Regions from separate parts of the Homo sapiens genome. Here region 1 is linked to region 2. Evidence: promoter capture Hi-C in human tissues and cell types (Jung and others, 2019). All regions are on one chromosome and are shown on one strand. The core of a region is centred on a gene start or on the middle of the fragment in contact, and the rest is flanking DNA. Distances in the headings are between cores, read along the strand shown.

What was found. The method cuts DNA at HindIII sites, captures the fragments that hold promoters and counts their contacts. A contact is called where the count stands out against the background at its distance.
Region 1: a contact is called between a fragment that was not itself captured here and the fragment with the promoter of CALCR in region 2, in 3 of the 25 tissues and cell types used here (H1 embryonic stem cells, lymphoblastoid cells and mesendoderm cells).

Annotation. Positions count from the first base shown.
Region 1 is chr7:93,411,736-93,418,595 of GRCh38, reverse strand. No RefSeq gene overlaps it. Among named protein-coding and RNA genes, the nearest start is that of MIR653, 68 kb to the left of the region's middle. The HindIII fragment of the contact is 3,795 bases long and covers 1,212-5,006 here.
Region 2 is chr7:93,572,387-93,579,369 of GRCh38, reverse strand. CALCR (calcitonin receptor) reads left to right here and starts at 4,646. Exons shown (of 14, transcript NM_001742.4): 1 at 4,646-4,678; 2 at 4,864-5,081. The HindIII fragment of the contact is 4,570 bases long and covers 848-5,417 here.

The sequences.
Region 1 (6,860 bases), core at 1,860-4,359, 160 kb after region 2:
TGTACTGTCTTTTAAACATATTTTTCATCCATAGTTGGTTCAATCTGCAGGTGTGGAATCCACAACTATGGAGGGCCAACTGTATTAATACTACTTCAATAAAGAAACCATTACATCTCTAAATTTATGGAACATGCCTAGAGCAGTTCCTAGAAGGAAGCTTAAACTTTAGATACCTTTAAGAAGAAATCAGAAAGTGAGCAACAGAGTAAAAGCAAAAACACGAGAAGGGTAATGTCGTATGAGACATTACCTTCATGTAAAAATAACCTCCAAGTATATTTTCAAGCAAGCTATCCTAGAAAGGCTCACAGACTAAATTAAGATGCTCAAGTCACACAGTTTACTTAAGCAATTGAAAACACTTAGTGGGAAGCTTTGGGAAGGAGATGAGGTAGGTTAGCACACTTAGGATAGGGCATTAGCATGATGGTATAGCCACAGTACGTGAATCCTTGGGTACAGTGTTCACATGTCCTCTCTAATCACGTATTCCCTGCTGAAGATGTGGATGTGAGAAACCAGAGTTGAGGTCTGAGCAATGGGATACAGGGTATGAAAGGTGACTAGAGCCAACATATGGTACTTACTCTATCAAGGAGTTGCAGGGACAAGTACTTGTGGCTACTGTTGAGCTTTCTAATTATTATCAACTATGGGTTTTATCTGCACTTCTTGGGCAAAGGACACAAGAAGTAGAATAGGTGTCACCAGGGGTAGAAGATTTAAGTCTATGTTAAACACACATCTGCTGTATTCAACTCATTCTATGTCTAATATATCTCACAGTTTACTAACTACTTGTTATTCATACTTCTTTTTCACTTTCCACGTTCTATAGCAGAATCGAATGTTCTAAAATAACTCATCAAACACATATCACAAAGGGACAAGTGTTTCAAATAGAAATCAGTGAAATAAGGAATGAGAGAGAGAAAGAGCAAGAGAGAAAACCAACAAAACCAAAACTAACAAAATTAACCATATTAGTTAAAACTAACCTGACACTGAGGCACCATTCTATAATTCTTAATATTCTTTAAAAAGTAAGAGTTATTTAGAAACATTTCTTGCTTCCAACATAAGATTGTTTAACAGTAATGTCAAACACTAGGTCAAAGAAAAATATCAAAAGAGCAATTTGAAAATATGTTGAGACAAAAATGAAAACACCGCATACGAAAACTTATGTGATGCTGCAAAAGCAGTAATAAAAGAGAAGTTTATAACACTAAATGCCCACAATAAAAAGAAGAAAAAATCTTTAAAAAAATCTAAATTAAGATGTAAATTGTCCCAGTTTGCAGAGGACATAATCTTATACATAGAAAACTCACTGACAAGGAAATTAGGAATATAATTTGGTTTAAAATAACATAACACCAAAAAGAAAATCTTAGAAATAACCTTAACTAAAGAGGGGAAATATTTTAACACTAAGAATGAGAAAATATTGATAAAATATATTTTAAAATACACACAAAAATGGAAAGAAATTCTGTGTTCATGAATTGGAAGATTTAATATTGTTAAAATTTCTATACTACCCAAAGTTATAGACAGATTCAATGCAATTGCTACCAAAATCTCAATGGAATTTTCTAGCAGAAATAGAAAAAGCAATTCTGAAATTCCTGTGGAACCACAAAAGACTCTGAAAAGCCAAATTAACCTTGAGAAAAAAGAACAAAGCTGGAGGCATCACACCTTCTGATTTTGAAATGTATTACAAAACTAAAATAATTAAACCAGAATAGTACTGGCATAAAGACAAGTAGATAGACAAATGAAACAGAATAGGGAGCCCAGAAATAAATCCATGCATATATGACCAATTGAATTTCAACAAGGATGTGAAGAAAACACAATGTGGAAAGGATAGCCTCTTCAACAAATGGTGTTGGGAACACTGAGTATCCACCTACAAAAGACTGAAATTGGACCCTTAGCTTACACCATAAACAAAAATCAACTCAAAATGGATTAAAGACTTAAACGTAAGAACTGATACTGTAAAACTAATAGAAGAAAATGTTGGAGAAAAGCTTCATGACATTGGTATTGACAAGGATTATAAATATGACACCAATAGCACAGCAACAAAAGAAAAAACAGACAAATGTAATTACATCAGTCTAAAAAGTTTCTGCACAGCAAAGGAAATAATCAACAGAGCAAAAGGCAACTTATGAAATGGAAGAAAATATTTGTAAACTATATATCTGAGAAGGCATAAATACCCAAAATATATAAGGAACTCCTACAACTCAATAACAAAAAAAAAAACTAATCCAGTTTAAAAATGGGCTAAAAACTTCAATAGACATTTCTCCAAAGAAGGCATACAAATGGGCAACACAGGTATATGAAAAAATGTCCATCACTAATCATCAGGTAAATGCAAATCAAAACCATAATTAGATGTCACCTCACATCTCTTAGGATGACTATTATCAAAAAAAAAAAAGATAAGTATGGGCAAAAACATGAAGAAATTGCAGTCCTTGTATACTGTTGGTGGGAATGCAAAATAGTATAGTCTCTATGACCGTATGAAGGTTTCTCAAAAAATTAAAAATAGAACTACCATATGATCCAGTAAACACACTTCTCAGTATTTATCCAAAAGAAGTGAAATTAGGGTATAATTTCAATCCTCTGCGTGTGCATATCAAGTTTTTCCATCACTATTTGTTAAAGAGACTGTTCTTTCTGCATTGTGTGTTCTTGGCATCTTTGTCAAAATTAATTGGCCATAAATGAGTGGATTTATTTCTGTGTTCTCTGGTCTGTTCCATCAGTGTATATGTCTGTTTTTAGGCTGGTACAATACTGTTTTGATTACTTTAACTTTTCAGTATATCTTGAAATTAGATAGTGTGATGTTTCTAGCTTTGTTCTTTTTGCTTAGGATCGCTTTGGTTATTTGGGGTTTTGGGGGGTTTCATACGTATTTTAGGATTTTTTTTTATTTCTATGAAAATGTGTCATTAGAATTTTGACAAGGATTGGTTTGAATCTGTAGATTGCCTTGGGAAATATGTAAATTTTAACAATATTATCTTTTCCAATTCATAGACATGGGTTATCTTTCCATTTATTTGTGTCTTCTTTAATTTTTAAATGAAATTATTTTTCATGAAATTACTTTTCATGAAATTATTTTTGAAAACTATTAAGTTTTCAGTGTACAGGTCTTTCACCTCCTTGGTTACATTCATTCCTGAATATTTTTTGTAGTTATTGTAAATTTGATCCTATCTCACACTGTATACAATAATCAACTCAAAATAGATTAAAGTTTTAAATGTGCAATCTGAAACTGTAAAACTACTAGAAGGAAGCATAGGGAAAAACCCTATGACATTGATCTGGGCAATGATTTTTCTGTTTGGATATTAACACAAAAGCAACCTGAACAGTTGGGGTTGCATCAAACTAAAAAGCTTTTGCACAGAAAAAGAAAGTCAACACACAGGAGAGACAACTTATGGAGTGGGAAAAAAAATACTTGCAAATCATATATCTGACAAGGGATTAATATCCAAAATATATGAGGAACTCAAACAATTTGATAGCAAGAAAACAAATAATCTGATTAAAAATGGGCAAATGACCCGAATAGAAATTTCTTAAAAGAGGACATACAAATGGCAAGCAGATAAAATTGCTTAACATCATGAATCATCAGAGAAATGCAAATAAAACCACAATGAGCTATGAATTTACACCTGTGAGAAGGGCTATTATCAAAAAGATGAAAGGTAAACATTGGCAAGGATGATGAAAAGGGAACCCTTGCATACTATTGGAATGTAAATTAGTACAGCTATTAGGGAAACTAGTATGGAGGTTCTTAAAGAAATTAAAAATAGAACTACCATATGACTCAGCAAAAGCATTAGTGGGTACTACCAAAGGAAATGGAGTCAGTATGTCAAAGAGATATCTGCACATCTATGTTCAGTGAAGCATTATTCACAATAGCCAAGGATGAACAGGTGAAGAAAATGTGGTATATATACACAATGGAATACTATTCAGCCTTTTTAAAAAAGGAAATTCCTGTCATTTGCAACAACATGAATGAACATGGAGGACATTAGGTTAAATGAAATAAGCCAGGCAAATACCACATGATCTCACTGATATGTGGAATCCAAAAAAGTTGATCTTAAAGAGAGTAGAATGGTAACGGTTGGGGGAGGCTGTTGGGGAGATGTTGGTTAAATGATACCAAAGTTTAGTTAGACAGGAGGAATAATTTCAAGAGATCTGTGGCACAACATGGTGACTATAGTTAATAACAATATATTGTATTTCAAGGCATAAAAATACATGTATTTCAAAACATGAAAATTGCTAAGACAGTAGATTTTAAGTGTTCTCACCACTTTAAAAAAGGATGTGAGATGTCTATATTAATTAGCTCAATTTAGCCACTCTAAAATATATGCATATTTCAAATATCATGTTGTACATGATAAATATACACAATTTGTATTTGTCAATTAAAATGAATAAAAAATTTAAAATTAAAATATGAAAATAAGGATTTCAAAGAGCTATTAGCAGTTTTATATTAATTGCAGCACTATTCACAATACCCAAAGTTGTGGAAACAACCTAAATGTCCATTAGTGGATGACTGGATGAAGAAATGTAGCATTAATTATTAATAATACAGAGGAATAATATTCAGCCTTAAAAAAGGAAGAAATTTTGCAACATTTAGCAACAGGGATGAAATTTGAAAACTTTATGCTAAGTGAAATAAGCCAGTGACAGAAGGACAAGTAGCTCATGATTGCACTTATATGAAGTATCTAAAATAATCAAACTCATGGAGTCGGAGAGTAGAATAGTGGTTACCAGAAGTTGAGGGGAAGGGGAAATGGGAGTTGCCAATCAACAGGCATAAAGTTTCAGTTATAGAAGGTAAGTAAGTTCTATAGGTCTGCTGTACAACATAGTACCTATAGTTAATAATACTGTATTGTGTACTTTAAAAATATATTAAGAGGGTAGAGATCTACCCATGTTAAGCATTCTTACTACAATAAAATAAATATTTTTAAGTGACAGGTTAACCTTGTGATTTCAATTCAAAGTTTGTACTAACTGATTTAGACTTGAACTTGTTAGTGGAAGTCTTGCTGAGTTGATATATACTGTATAAATGTTTAGGGAAATTTAGAATAACTACATTTATAAGCTAAATTGCTCCATAATAGATTTGCTTAGATGAGTCAGATAAAAGAGAAATCGAATACATTTATTTTATATGTGCAGTTTAAAATATTGAGGTTGTTTAAGGTTATAAATGAGATCAAACATTATATAAAGCCCTCTAAAATTAGTTGTTAAAATTTGGTAGACATAAGAATAGAATAATGAGATTTTTAAACTGAAGTTAAATGCACAAAGAAAAACTGGACTTTTAAATTTATAACTTTAATGAGTTGAATATTAGTTTTAAAATCAAATAAACTTCTGAATAGTATTTTCAACATGTAAACATGGTTCTCAAAGGCATATTGAACCTTGCATTCAATATTCCTGTAGGGGAAAAAGTCTGATGAAAGTTAATATTAATAGTTGAAACCTGGTAGGCTAAAAAATGCCCCTATACTTTGGAGGAACATAAAGTATATCTTGACTTTTTAAGGATTTATTTCTAGTTTCTAGTAGTTTTAGCAAATATAAAAGTTAATTTCACATTAGCATTTTTGTGGGAAAATATAACTAGTCACAAAAGGAAAAAGAAGACTTAGGCAGTTTTTCAGGTGGTGCTGAGTTTCCTATACTGAGGGGATAAGACATAATTACTCTCCCAAATGGCAACAAAGGTGAGCTAAACAGGTATATATTTTTTATTGTGTGTGAGAATTAGCATTTTTCAAGGGCCTACTGTGTGCCAGTCATTGTACATATATTATTTCATTTAATCTTTACAAGAACCTATAAGTGGTTGTACAAATATAGAAACATGAAGTCACACTGGTTGTGAGTGGTGGAGCCAAAATTCTAAGTCTGACTCCATAACCTGTGCTCTTTATATACCAGTGTTTCTCAGTGGACGCCGAGGACCACATGCAGCACAATCGCTGATGTGCTTATGAAACATACAGATTCTTAGACCCCATTCCAAGTCTCTGGAATTAGAATATCTAGGGATGGTGACAAAAACATGGATTTTTGAGAACTAGTTTGAGAAGCCATGTGACCAACATATGCCACCAAGCTCCACTCTTTCTCTGAACTTGAGTATTTGACATTTTTTATATGAAACTATTCATTGTGAGGATATGTTATTTATGAAAGCAGTGTGATCTTCCTGCTAGGAGATAATTCAGTTATTGGGAATATGGGGCTTGTTTTTTATTGGAAAATCCTCATTTCAAAAAACACATAACACCTGTTAACAAAATATCTCATCACAGGACTTTCTTTTACCATGTCAGCACTACAGACTGCTTTACCAGATTGCTCTAATATGTGGCTGCAATATCTGTTTTGCAGAAATTTCTTAAGCAAGTATGAGTTTATACATGGCATACCAAAAGCTTTTAAAGAGATATTTTGGCTTGACCATCCATCAGCAGTCCTCCTATGTGACCTTACGATTGACAGAGACCATTTCTGAGTTTGGGTCAATAAACAAGAAAACAAAGGTTAAAATGAGTTTTAATTTCTGCGTGTGATAGCAGTACCAGCTTCGTTATATCCAGTTATTCTTTCTGTCATGGGCACATGGGAAGATTTCCCAGCTTCCTTGCAAGTAATGGCACTATGTGCTTATTCTGGCCAATGGCCTGAGTGTAGAAAATGATGTGTGTCACTTCTAGTTCCAGAGAGTG
Region 2 (6,983 bases), core at 3,397-5,896:
AGTTCCCTGTTAATGATATTTTAACATTGTCAGTATCTGAAATTAACAATTTACTTCTTATTTTGTTTGTTACCTATCTCCCTCTTCCCACTAGAATATAAGCTTTGAGGCCGCAATTTTTCATTATTTGTTGAATGAATTAATGAATGAATGTCTGCGTACATTTGCTTCTGCAGTATTTTTTCTGGCTCCTGGGTTTCCCTTTAGAATTTTATTTAAAATATAAGAAATGGATATTTCTGAACTTCATCAGAGATGGAGCAATTAGTTTCCACTGCTGCTTTATGGTGTAAGTCCCTGCCATCTCCTCCTACTCTGAGTTATTTACACATTAAGTTAACAGTTAACCAAAGTGAAGTTTATGTAAGTACAATCTGGAAAGACACTTCCTAGTTCAAGTGGAATTTGTTTTTTCCATGCCAAAAGACACGTTCTCTAGAGAAACACAGCCGTGTCACACCCTTGGAAAGATGAGGAGAGAAGAGAGACTTACAAGTACCCCAGCTCCTGTTTCTGAAAGACAGGTGGAAAATCGAAGCAGGACACTTCCTTCAAGAGAGCATGATTTATCAGGTCAAAGTTCGAATTGTTTTCAAAGGAAAACATTTATTTTTCACTAAGGCAAATTATTATTTGCCCTGTCATGGTGAGGCCTGTAAATCTAGGAAGAGTAATTATATAAAGAATAATTACCAGCTGTTGTCTATTTGGAAGGAGACTACAAGAGGAAGAAACAAATGTTCTTGAATAGACTGTGGGCTTCTTGAGGGTAGGAGCTGCATATTGTGCTTTTTGGGTCCCCCATAAGCGGCTAGCCAAGGGTGTTGTGAAATTATGTGGTGTTAAATATGTACTAAATTACCAACACATAAGCATAACGGATTGAGCTGGATTTCAATGTAAGGAAAACTTTGCTGATAGGGAGCTATTCAAGTTAACCATTGGATTCCTGAGAGAGTCCAGAAATTTTTTCTCTAAATTCCTGTTAAAAAAAGAATAAACTCTATTTAACCTTACAACAATTTTTTTCCAAGAAGAACTAAATGACTTTTTTCAGTCTCTACAAAGTGTGACCTCCCTCACATTAACCATATTTAACAGGAATAGGTATTAATAGAGCTAGTCTTTAATAATGGGCAATCTTCCCTCCATTCACTGAAATTCAAAACTTTAGTGATTTTTAAGGAAAAGTCACTGAATTCTCGAACCATAAGTGTCCAGAAAGTGGTATGTATGGTTCAAACTCTGGCAAACCTTGCTTGGAAAGACAGAGTTGAGAGGTCAGATAATCCTTTGCTAGTGGCAGAACTTCACACCCTCAGCAATGTAGATGGAGGGTTTCATAATTGAAGTGGAGTTTGCATTGAAAAGTCTGTAGACAAGATCCACAGAATACTTCTCCCTAAATTAGTAACTGTCCAAAGGGGAAATTTTCTAAAGAGGAAGAGGGACAGAGAGAAAGGGGCAAAGTATCATAAAGACAGGGGATTTTAAAATAAATAATCAATAAAAGTACCAGGAATGTGTGACTACCACATTTTAAGATGCTTATTTTATGAATGCCCCTTTGATGAACTAATTTCATTTGAAAGCTTATTTGCAAATATAAGGTATTCCACTTGAAGAATAGCTTATTCTAACCCAGTGTCTTTAGGTATTTTTGTGATCTACAGAAAGAAATACATTTTACTTTGCAATTTCATACACAGAGATAGAGAGAGAGAGAGAAATAAGACAAGTTTCAAGAAACCACTCTTGTGCTTTCAAATGGCGATGAACTCTGATATTTTCTATCCTATTCCACTTCATTTTTTAAATGTTACTTATGCCCACTAACTTGATTTCAAGATCCAGTAATGGGTCTCATAACATTTTCAAAACAATGCCAATTCCCCTTATCAGACCATCCCCATGTTAACATCCACCCTCCAAAAACTTACCACACTGTGTCCATGTAGGAAATACTGTGATAATATTAAGAAAGCAGTAGACTTAAATTTCTGTAAAATCCAAGTGTTTCCAACAGGTACATAACCCCTTTGGTGTTCAATAAATATCTGTTACTGACAAAGTCAATTTAATCTTCTTAGGGGACAAGAGAGCTTCATCCCTGATCTTGCTTCTGCTGTGTCACCTTCCCTGAAATATTCTGCCTACAGAGAACTCTCATTGTTTCCCCCAATATTGTATCTAACACAGTTCACACTTTAATCAGCTGAGGTTGCTTATGCTTAGACCACAAACAGTTTAAAGTTTTATGATACACCCATGCCATTTTTCTCAATAACTTTTAGACTTTGTTTACATTATGGTTAAGGGCTGCATCCCACATATATTCATTAGATTTATAGAATCAAGCCCATCCTGCTCTCAGAATACTGGTTATCAATATCAGGTAGGCTGCCCTAGGATTTAACCTCCAGCGGAAAAATCTCCTTGTACTTGTTCTATCACACAATGCCGAGGGCGGCAACACTTTCTACTCAGCAATAGTCTCCCTGAATCATTGTTATTTCAGTGACTTGGGCTACAACCTGAGAAATTCTCAATGTTTGGCCCCAGCAGTTGACCATAGGAGACTCTCAAACAACTTTAATATTTCTCTGCTGTTTGCACCAAAAGAAGGTAATTAATATTCCAAAAGAGAATTCTTAAAGGAGGTCATGGTCAAGTGTTGGCTGGTCAGGAGCAGTTGGAAAGCAGGGAGCTATTGAACTCAAGACAGATTGAGCCCAACCCAGCACGGAGTGAAGATTCCTATCTAAGTTCTGAATTCGGAAGGGTTTCTTATACAGGCTTTGTTTAAGTTACTGTGTCTGTGTGTGTGTGTGTGTGTGTGTGTGTGTGTGTGTGTGTGTGTGTGTGTGTGTGTGTGTGTATGTTCCTTTCAAAGCCTCCTTGTCTCCCAGTTGCCCAGCCTCCTTTCCTAGTCACATTTCTTACTGCTAACAACATCATTCTCACTTATCCTGGGAATGAAGGGACTGTACAATCTTCCTCTGCAGTGAGGCAGTGCCTTAGGGTTTGAATGCACAGTGAGTCACACACAGCCCTCTGGGTCACCAGACTGGAGGTGACAGGGAAGGGGGGAGTATATAGAGGAGGGAGCCTGGAAAAACAAAATCCCTGGAATGTTGGGTGGGAGAGCTGATCTGATCCTTGAGTCTGTCCTCCACTGGATCTCCTGAAAGCCTCAACCACACAAATTAGGGGTCCCTGTTGTCTCTCTGGGGTGGGGTATGAGGATTCAAAATAAAACAGGAGCATGCAAAATAAAACGGGGACATTTTTTGCCTACAGTCACTGATGTTTCCATGGAAGAGCTCCAAGGATGGTTGGGTGAGGGCTGCAGTTCCATTCACAGGACACCTCCTTCTCTGTCACCCGGTGTTGTCCCGTGTGCTTATGAGAACCTAAGATCACCAGGGAAAGTGTGCTGTCGCCGTCTGGCTTTCTTCCCCTCCCATTAAATGATTGCTATTATTTCTTTTGCCAAGGAGACAGTGTTTAGTAACCTCGACGGTGCACGGCCACCTTGTGGTCCCGGGACGCACCGGATGCTGTTTTCTTAGTCCAACACCGCCTAAACAGAGTTAGGGAAAAAAGTGTTGGCTCCTGCCTTGATCCACCCAGTTGTGGGCTAAAAGAGGTTGAGGGTGACTCGTCCTTGGAATCAACTTGCCTGCCTCCCAGGGCGTGCCTGCCAGCCTCCGCTGCGCCCCGCCTGGTATTGGATTGTCCCGGACTCCTGCTGACATCGAGGGCTTTAGGGGGAAAGAAGAGGAGTCGCAGTGTCCGGCACCAAGTCAGGCACCCCATATCCCCGTCTTCCCTCGCCATCCTCTCTGTTTTCATTCACCCTAAAACACTGTGCCCACCAGCAGTCCCCTACACGGAGGGCACTCTTTCTCCAAATCCAAGTTATGCCTCCAGCCTACAGCCGCCCAACTCCGGACGCTTTCCCAGGGCTTGCCTGACCCCCAAGGTGTCTCTTCTCATCTCCTTCCTCTCAGCACTTTTTTCCTTTTAGCACCCCAGCTCTTAGCCAGCCGTCTTCCCACGTCCTCACCCCACTTTCACTACCTAGCCCACTACCGACCCTCCCTCCACAGGCTCCCTAGTGCTGTCCCCGGAGTGGCGGCTGAAGAAGCCAGGGTCACAATGTCTCTGGGATAAGGTTCTTGTGGAAACTCACCTCCCTCCGGAATTTGCATTCTCCGGGGAGGGGACAGGGCTCCCAGAAAGCTGTCTCCCAGTCCAGACTGTCGCCCCCCTCTCCCTCCCTACTCAAGGTCTAACTCGGGTCCCTCGCCTGCTTCCTGTGTTTACGCGGCGCTTTAGTCTCCCGGACTCGCAGGGTGAGCCCCAGCCCTGACTGGAGCGAGACAGCAGCCGCGAGCGCAGCCCCACTCGCGGGCCGGGGCGACTGGGGCTGGCGCGAGGCGCACGGAGCTCACCAGCTCGCCCCTCCCTCTCCTGGGACAGGAGGGGGCTGACTGGGGTGGCGGGGTCCGGGAAGGGGGGCTGGCTCTCATCAATTCTGCTGCCACCTCCTCTGCCGCCTGTCGGGAGGCGGGCGGGGGTGGGGCGGGAGCGCAGGCTAGGATTGAGACTCTTAAGTCAGGAGAAGTTTGCGCACAGCTTCACAGCTGGGAGAGCGCAGGAAGGCGCCGGGAAGGTGAGCCTCCTGGACTCTGGGGAGGTAGAAAGCAAGCCAGGGGAAAGAACAGTTGTCTTTTAGCTGATAATACAACCTAGACTTGGGTCTGAACCACCTAAGACAGATTTAAAGTGTCAGAAAACCAGGAGAGGGGCGGAGAGGGAGGACTGAGACTAACGCAGTTTGCTCTCGCATCAAACTAGGAAAGCCAGCCCACCAGCGTCTGGGTGGGCTGCGCCGCGCGGCTGGCGGACCTTCCCGGGTTGGAGAAGTGCGCACGTCCGCACCTCACCCTGCGGCTGACATCTCCTGCCCAGGAGATGGGCGCTGAAGCTTGAGCGCCTGAGTCCCTGGAGCCACACCTGCGAACACCCTTTGCTTCTATTGAGCTGTGCCCAGCCGCCCAGTGACAGAATTCCAGGTAAGGAGCGTTTGGAAATGAGCGGGACTTAACGATTTGGGGTGTCCAAGGGATGTTTAACAGTGCAGGTGCTATAGGCACCTTGCTTTTTGATTATAGAAATGTGGTTTGATTGCGGTGCTTGTGGTTCTCATGTAGGGTCAGCTAGGTCTTAGATGCTTTACTTTACCCTTGTCAAAGAAAAAAGAAAAATAGGTGTCCTGGGAAGAGCCAACAACTTATGGTTTCGTATTGAAGAATCGTTTGATTTCTTGTGACTTTTACTATGTTGTTCATATCAATTTTCCCTCAAAAGTTTTATTCTCCAACTTATTGGGTAGGAAAATTACGGAGGTTAAAGTTGTGAATTTTCCCAAAGGGTGTTTATTAACTGACAAACATATAATATCAGCATCTATAAGATGTGTCATGGTTGTTCTGGATATTGGAAATGAGCACAGTAGTGAATGGAGTTGCTTGTTAAGTCATGTTTTACAGAGAATAGTTTTCCAACAATCATTTATGCATAGCAGCCATTCTTCACACCTATTAGGAAAAATATGTTGTGTGCATAGTTTCCAAAAGAGTACTCTTTTTCATGATGCTCTTCCCAAGCCTGGGTGAAAGACATCAAGAAAAGCTGTAACAAATTAATTCCTTTTCTCAAAACATTCATTTTCCTTGAGGTCCAAGTCAAAAATCAACAATACAATTGAGATTAGTAAACTATCATACAGACTTTATTTGGCAAATCTACCTAAGAAAAGTTTCATATGAAAGCTTTAACCTAATACTATGTGACATATGCAAGAAGAGAACGCAGGGTTTCACTTGCCGATCTTAAGGAGACCCTGACTATTTCCAGGCTGTGGTTAACCGGAATCAAGTTATCTATGTAAGGCTATTTGTTGAAATTATTCGGTGATTGAAGGTGAAATGTTCAAAATAAGTCAAAGTTTTACAATGTAGTTCTTAAAGCTAATCTTTAAATTACAGAGCGTCCGAGTTTAAGTCTGTCTTAAATGATCATAGAAAGCAAATATTTTATGTATTTGGGCCAGTTGACTTACCATTAAGGACAAAGTAGGAATGCTTTTAGTATTATGGAATTTATAAAGTGTAATTTCTAATAGGATATTGCTAGCCTATGAGTTCAGTAGTAAAATAACTCAGCTTTAAAAAGTTGAGATTGCTGGTTATACACCAGTATTATGAGAGAAACTAAGATGATTAGATTTGTAAAACCTTTACAGTTTAAGTTGGTATTCTCAGTGGATACTCATTTCTACTCAATATTTTAACATAACTCAAAACATCCATCAGCCAGGATTTGTTCTGGTTCAATGCCTCTAACCTGTAGTTTATTTTATGAACTATAGCCCAAGAATAATATCTGGTCATATTATAAAATGTTCTAAGTTTATTCATTGGCTACATCAACACAATAAGTAAACAAGAAATCTTCATTATAACCAGTTTATAAGAACACATAGATAATCTTGGAGTTGTTTTGTTTCATGATTCTCAAAGTTAAAAAGAAATAGCTGATATAAATACGTCTTCTGTTTCTCATTTTGAAACTGGAGGTAATGATTGATGGTGGATGGAGAGCATTTGCTCTAATCAGTTGAAGAAAGGGAGCTAACTATTAGTTTAGTTGTGCCATGGCAATTCTGTTCTTGATGAACCTCTCAGACTCTGTCAATGTTAACATGAATGGAAATATTATCTACTGTTGGTTTTTATTAGAGTCCTAGTGAAATGGAAATAGGAGACCGGTAATGGTTTCAATGATAATCTAAATCAGTATTCTCAACTCGGGCTGCAAATTAGGGTTAATAGGAGAACTTTCAAAAAATACGGATGCTCAGCCTTACCCCAATTCAATCAAATCAGAATATCTGTGGAAAGGGTCTGCAATTT